2 separate regions of the Homo sapiens genome follow, and region 2 is linked to region 1. The links are contacts of gene promoters, found by promoter capture Hi-C in human tissues and cell types (Jung and others, 2019). All regions are on one chromosome and are shown on one strand. The core of a region is centred on a gene start or on the middle of the fragment in contact, and the rest is flanking DNA. Distances in the headings are between cores, read along the strand shown. Region 1 holds the start of OR2M7 (olfactory receptor family 2 subfamily M member 7). Region 2 has its middle 15 kb from the start of OR2T11.

Region 1 (2,826 bases), core at 305-2,804:
AGTCAATGAGTGGATAAATAAAAGGTGGTATATACATACCATGGGATACTATTCTTCCATAAAAATGAATTAATTAATAGCATTTGCAGCAACCTGGTTGGAATTGGAGACTATTATACAAAGTGAAGTCACACAGGCATGGAAATCCAAACATCGTATATTCTCACTCATATGTGCCAGCTAAGCTATGAAACACCAAGGCATAAAAATGATACACTGGACTTGGGGACTTGGAAGAAATGTTGGGGACTGGAGAGGGCTAAAAGACTACACATTAGGTACAGCGAACACTGCTTGGTTGATCGCTGCACTAAAATCTCAGAAATCACCATTAAAGAACTTATTAATGTAACCAAACACTATGTGTTTCCCAAAATGATAATGAAATTTAAAAATAAAAATGGAATGTCTTTATTGAAAATGCCTTATATTGTAGTCATAACTGAATTGAATATTAAAAAATCTAAAATAGTTTATCTGAAATAAATTATACTGGTACCCATCAATATGTTGAGCAATGCACACAATTAGTGATATTTTTAGGACTTAATAGAAAAAGAGAGACAATAAAAAGAAGACGTTAGCAGACAGCAAAACATGAAATTTATGAGGTAACTCAATCTCCAGACTTGCCCTTTCCTAAGATTTTCATTAATGCTCTGGTCACTTCCTTGTTGCGGAGGCTATAAATGAGAGGATTCAGCATGGGAGTGACGATGGTGTAGAATACAGACACCATCTTGTCCTGCATAGGAGAATGATGAGATGTGGGCTGAATGCACATGAACAAACCTGCTCCATAGTACATTCCCACCACCATGAGGTGAGAGGAACAAGTAGTAAAAGCTTTGCGACGTCCCTCTCCAGATCCCATGTGAATGACAGCCAGAATAACTCGAGCATAGGAAGTGATGATGATTGCAACAGGGAAAACAAGCATTACTATACAGCAGATGAAAATAACCTCTTCAAATATTGATGTGTCATTGCATGAGAGGATTAGTAGGGAAGGGAAGTCACAGCAGAAGTGGGCTATTTCCCGAGACCCACAGTAGGAGAAGGAAAATGTCGCTACAGCATCAATGATTCCATCTGTAGAGCCCAGGATCCAGGAGAAGGCAGTCATAAGTCCACAAATTTTGGGTCTCATGAGATTGGTGTATCTTAGAGGGTGGCAAATGGCAGTGTAGCGGTCATAAGACATAACAGCCAACAGAAAGCATTCGGAGCCAAGCAATGATATATAGAAGAAAATTTGTGTGGCACAGCCAGCCATAGAAATGGACTTGCTGCCAGACAAGTAGTTGAAGGCCATCTTGGGTACAGTGGTGCAGATGAGCATGAGGTCCATGAGGGACAGTTGGCTGAGGAGGAAGTACATGGGGGTGTGGAGCTGGGTATCCAGGTAGATGAGGAGAACCATGATGGAGTTTCCCATGAAGGCCACTGAAAAGATGGCCAGGACCAGAAAGAAGAGGAAGGTGTGGGTGGGGCTATGATTGAAGATTCCCAGGAGGAGGAAGTCAGAGTTGAAGGTCTGATTCTCCCATGCCATGATGAATATGCCTGTTACCTAGCACCGCAAAAACAGTTCATTAATTTGATAAACATTTACCCAGTGCCTTATAAAGCATGTGATTATGGTAAATTCTGTAGTTTGGTGATCAATACAGGATGGCCAGAATTATAAAACTCAAAGTTTAAGAATTATGGAATCATAAAGAAATATGTTCTCTCAGCAGTGTCTCACTTATAAAATTATGGAGCTTGTCCTAACTTTTCTTCTAAGCATTCTTTTTCTCCATTGAAAAATTACAATAACAATATCTACTACATGATCAATGGAGTTTTTCCAAAAAGAATATGTCTCCAAAGCAAACAGTTCCTAAAACATCAGAAGCCTGTTACAGGTAAATTGATAGAGAAATTCAGGTTCAGTCACCATGTGACCAACACAATACTAGAAATGGACAATAAATTTGTGCCTTTATTCACATGATAGTAGGCATTTTTCCTACCAGAGTTAAGAAAATGTGTATGTTTACCTATTACTTTACAGTTTAAAGTATTTTATCTATACTTTATAGTAAGTTTTCTATACAGTAAGTGGATTCACTGAAAAGATTTTCAATTATACAAATCTAAGACATATGCTCTTTTTTCTATAGCCCAGTGTGATGCATTGAATTATGTTTCTTCCCCAAAAGATAGCAAGTGAGCTTGTTTAGAAATACATAAAGGGTATAATTAGTTAAGGTGAGGTCAAGTTGGAGCAGAGTGGGTCTCTCTAATTCAATATGACTCATGTTCTGATAAGTGGGTGGCCATGTGAAGACTGAGACACTGAGGATACCATGTGATAGGGGAGGCAGGGATTGGAGTGGTGCATCTACAAATCAAGAAATGCCAAAAACTGTTAGTTATAACAGGAACCTGGGAGAGAGGAATGGGACAGATTCATCCTCTTAGAGCCCTCAGAAGTGTCCAACCCTGCTGACAACTTGATTTCAGATTTCTAGACTCCAAAACTATGAGAGAATAAATTTCTATTGTTTTAGGTAACCTGTTTGTGATTTCTCTGTACTGGCATTCGTAGGAAATTAATACATCCAATATATCCTATAGAAAATAAGTAGATATAAAAACAGAAATTAAGAAAAGCATGAGATTCATCCTTTCAACAACATTTATGAAGCCTGGCTATGTGTTGATCACTGGGGCTACCACAGTGACCAGAATAAAGAAAGCCCGTGTCCATACAGGTCATAGTGAGTGTGATCAGATGATGATTATAAAACACTTTATGTCATAAGAGGATAAACATTT
Region 2 (2,718 bases), core at 18-2,517, 300 kb after region 1:
CAGACATTGCGTGGGTGTAAGTGGGAAGTCTGCACCCTACATTGTGAAGCACACCAGCACGTTTCCCCAACGTGGGTTCTCAGAATGCTGGCAGCCCCCAGAAAGATTTGCAGAGGAAGCAGACCATACCAAAGAAAATACCTAGGAATACTGACATTTGAGGTTTCCAAAATAAGTCATTTACATCATAGTTTAGTGACTCCTACTCGTTAAGGCTTGTCCTTATCCAGAGACTAACATTAGGAGAGAGACAGGGATTACAAAACTTGAGGAAAGCTTCTAAAATAAAAGGCAGAAATCACACAAATCAGTGAAAATAAGAAGAAATACAGTATGCAGTAATTAGAGAAACTCTTTCTATAAAAGATAACTGACTAATCTGCTATGACAGATAAGAACATACAAACAGATATTAAACTAGAACAGGGTGTTTTAAACAGAGCATTGGAGAAATTTTTAAGAGTTCTTGAACATTTAGATTATGGCAGTGTAGACTGTAAAGTAGGACAAGACAGATGCAAAAGAAGGTAGAAGAAGAGATCCAGTTTGTGAGTCAGGAGGCAAATCAAGTAATAAAAATTCCAGAGGAAAAGAATGTTTTAGATGGAAGGAAAGCACATATTTCAGTCATGTTTCAGAGCAAAAATTCTGGAATTGAAAGACACGTTTCAAGATTAAAAGGTTCATCAATTGCCCAACATAATTGTTAAAAAGAGCCCTTATGAAGACATTATGAATGTTTAACACGACTGCCAAAGGAGAGCCTGAAGCCTCCAGGGGACGACAACACAACTAAAATTGAGAGCATGGAACTCCCAGGAGAAATACTGAATGTTAGAAGACAATGGAGGAGGGACATCCTCATATTCATGAGGGAAAGCTTTTTTCAACCTACACATTGACACCTGGCCAGATCTACTGTCAAAGTGGGAGGATAAAAAAAGTCATTTTCAAACATGCAAGGCCTTTAAAAAATTTCCTCCCACGTACTTTGTTTATAAACCTGTTGAAAGACATGCTCCACAATGGGGAGGTTTTAAAGTAGAAGACGTGGTACACAGACAATCAAGAATCCAGAGGGTCATGGGGAAGAGGCAGCATCTCAGGAGGAGCCCCGTGCAGCGCAGCCCATCTCTGGGGCAAGCAGCCTGGATGGAAGCGGCAGAGCAGGGGCTGCAGAAGAGGGAGGGCTGTGAAGACGGCACCGAGAATTCCTGAGGGAGTCACAGTTTCAACAGGATATTTATCAGAAGGAGATTCTATATACATATATATATATACACACACACATACACATATATATAGAGATTAGTCAGTTTTCTTTCATGTATACATATATATGTATATATACACACACACCCATATATATGTATATACAAATACATATATCTCCTAGCTACTGGGGAGGCTGAGGTGGGAGGATTGCTAGAGACCAGGAGCTCAATCTCTTTCTTGACCCAGCTGGTCAAGAATGATTACCAACCCTCAAAACCTGTCCTGTCCCCACTCAGTCACCAAAGTGATTGTGACTCTGACTTCTGACATGGTATTCTATCAGTGTCAATCTTCCATCTCTGCTCTTTAGACCTATCTGCCTCTCAGAGCATGCTCACAGGAGACTGAACCACACAACCTGCTTGTGCCCCTTAGAGTCCTCTTGTAGCCCAGCTTGCCCTCTGCACTTGCTCTTCTGCATATCACTGATGGCAGCTAGTTTTGGGACCTTGTTCACCAAGTCAGGTTTTGAGAGGTGAAGTCAAATTTTGTTCATAACTACTCTAGGCTCTTCATTAATGGCTGGGACTCTGGAAATAAGCTCATTCTGATGGAAAGGCTAATAAGGAATCTGTTTTCTTTTTAAAAATTCTTTTAATCTTCCCATTTTTGTGTCTTTTCTCTTTACTGGTATTTGAAATGCACATCTTTGTAACCAGGTCACAAGAATGATTTTGCTTGGATTGTTTGGTGGCCTCAGACATAGGGTTCAGAAGCATCTTTCAATGTCATTATCTTTTTATCAGATCTTGAATTGCTTATTTGTTGTTTGTGTATGTTTATGTCCATGGGCACTAATATGGGTTCTTCTCACTACAAAAATCAGGGTCCCCTTCCTAAAATTCCGGCTAAATACTAAAGGGTTTTAAACCAAAAGTAAAATTCTAAGCCTCCCTCAACCATCTGAATAGGGCCCTCGTCTCAGCAAAGGCATTCCAAAGTTAACCTGATAAACTAGTTCAGGCCATGATAGGAAGGAAGAGCTTGACATGCCTCAGGATACCCTCCCTCCCTTTTGGAATTACTGATAGAACAGATTCTTTAAGACTTAAGTCTAATTAAAAAACATTTACAATCTTCTCTCTGAAGCCTGCTTGTTGGAGGCCTCATCTACAAGATCAAGTCTTGGTCTCCACAAACCCTTACCATAACCAGACATTTCTTTCTACTGATAAACAACTCTTTCAGCTAATTGCCAATCAGAAAATCTTTGAATCTGCCTCTGACTTAGAAACTCCTGCTTCCAATTGTTGTGTGTTTCCAGGTCAAACCACTGTACATCTTATACATGTTGACTGATGTCTTATGTCTCCCTAAAATGCGTAACACCAAGTTGTCCGGCCACCTCAGACCCGTGTTTCTCAGGATCTTCTGAGGGTGGTTCCATGGGCCATTGGTCACTCATTTGGCTCAGAATAAATCTTAAAATACAGGGTTTGACTT

What was found. The method cuts DNA at HindIII sites, captures the fragments that hold promoters and counts their contacts. A contact is called where the count stands out against the background at its distance.
Region 2: a contact is called between a fragment that was not itself captured here and the fragment with the promoter of OR2M7 in region 1, in 3 of the 25 tissues and cell types used here (mesendoderm cells, neural progenitor cells and thymus).

The regions. Positions count from the first base shown.
Region 1 is chr1:248,323,014-248,325,839 of GRCh38, forward strand. It overlaps OR2M7 (olfactory receptor family 2 subfamily M member 7), which reads right to left and starts at 1,555. Exons shown (of 1, transcript NM_001004691.1): 1 at 617-1,555. The coding sequence starts at 1,555. The coding sequence ends at 617. The HindIII fragment of the contact is 10,500 bases long and covers 1-2,826 here.
Region 2 is chr1:248,618,315-248,621,032 of GRCh38, forward strand. No RefSeq gene overlaps it. Among named protein-coding and RNA genes, the nearest start is that of OR2T11, 15 kb to the right of the region's middle. The HindIII fragment of the contact is 7,017 bases long and covers 1-2,718 here.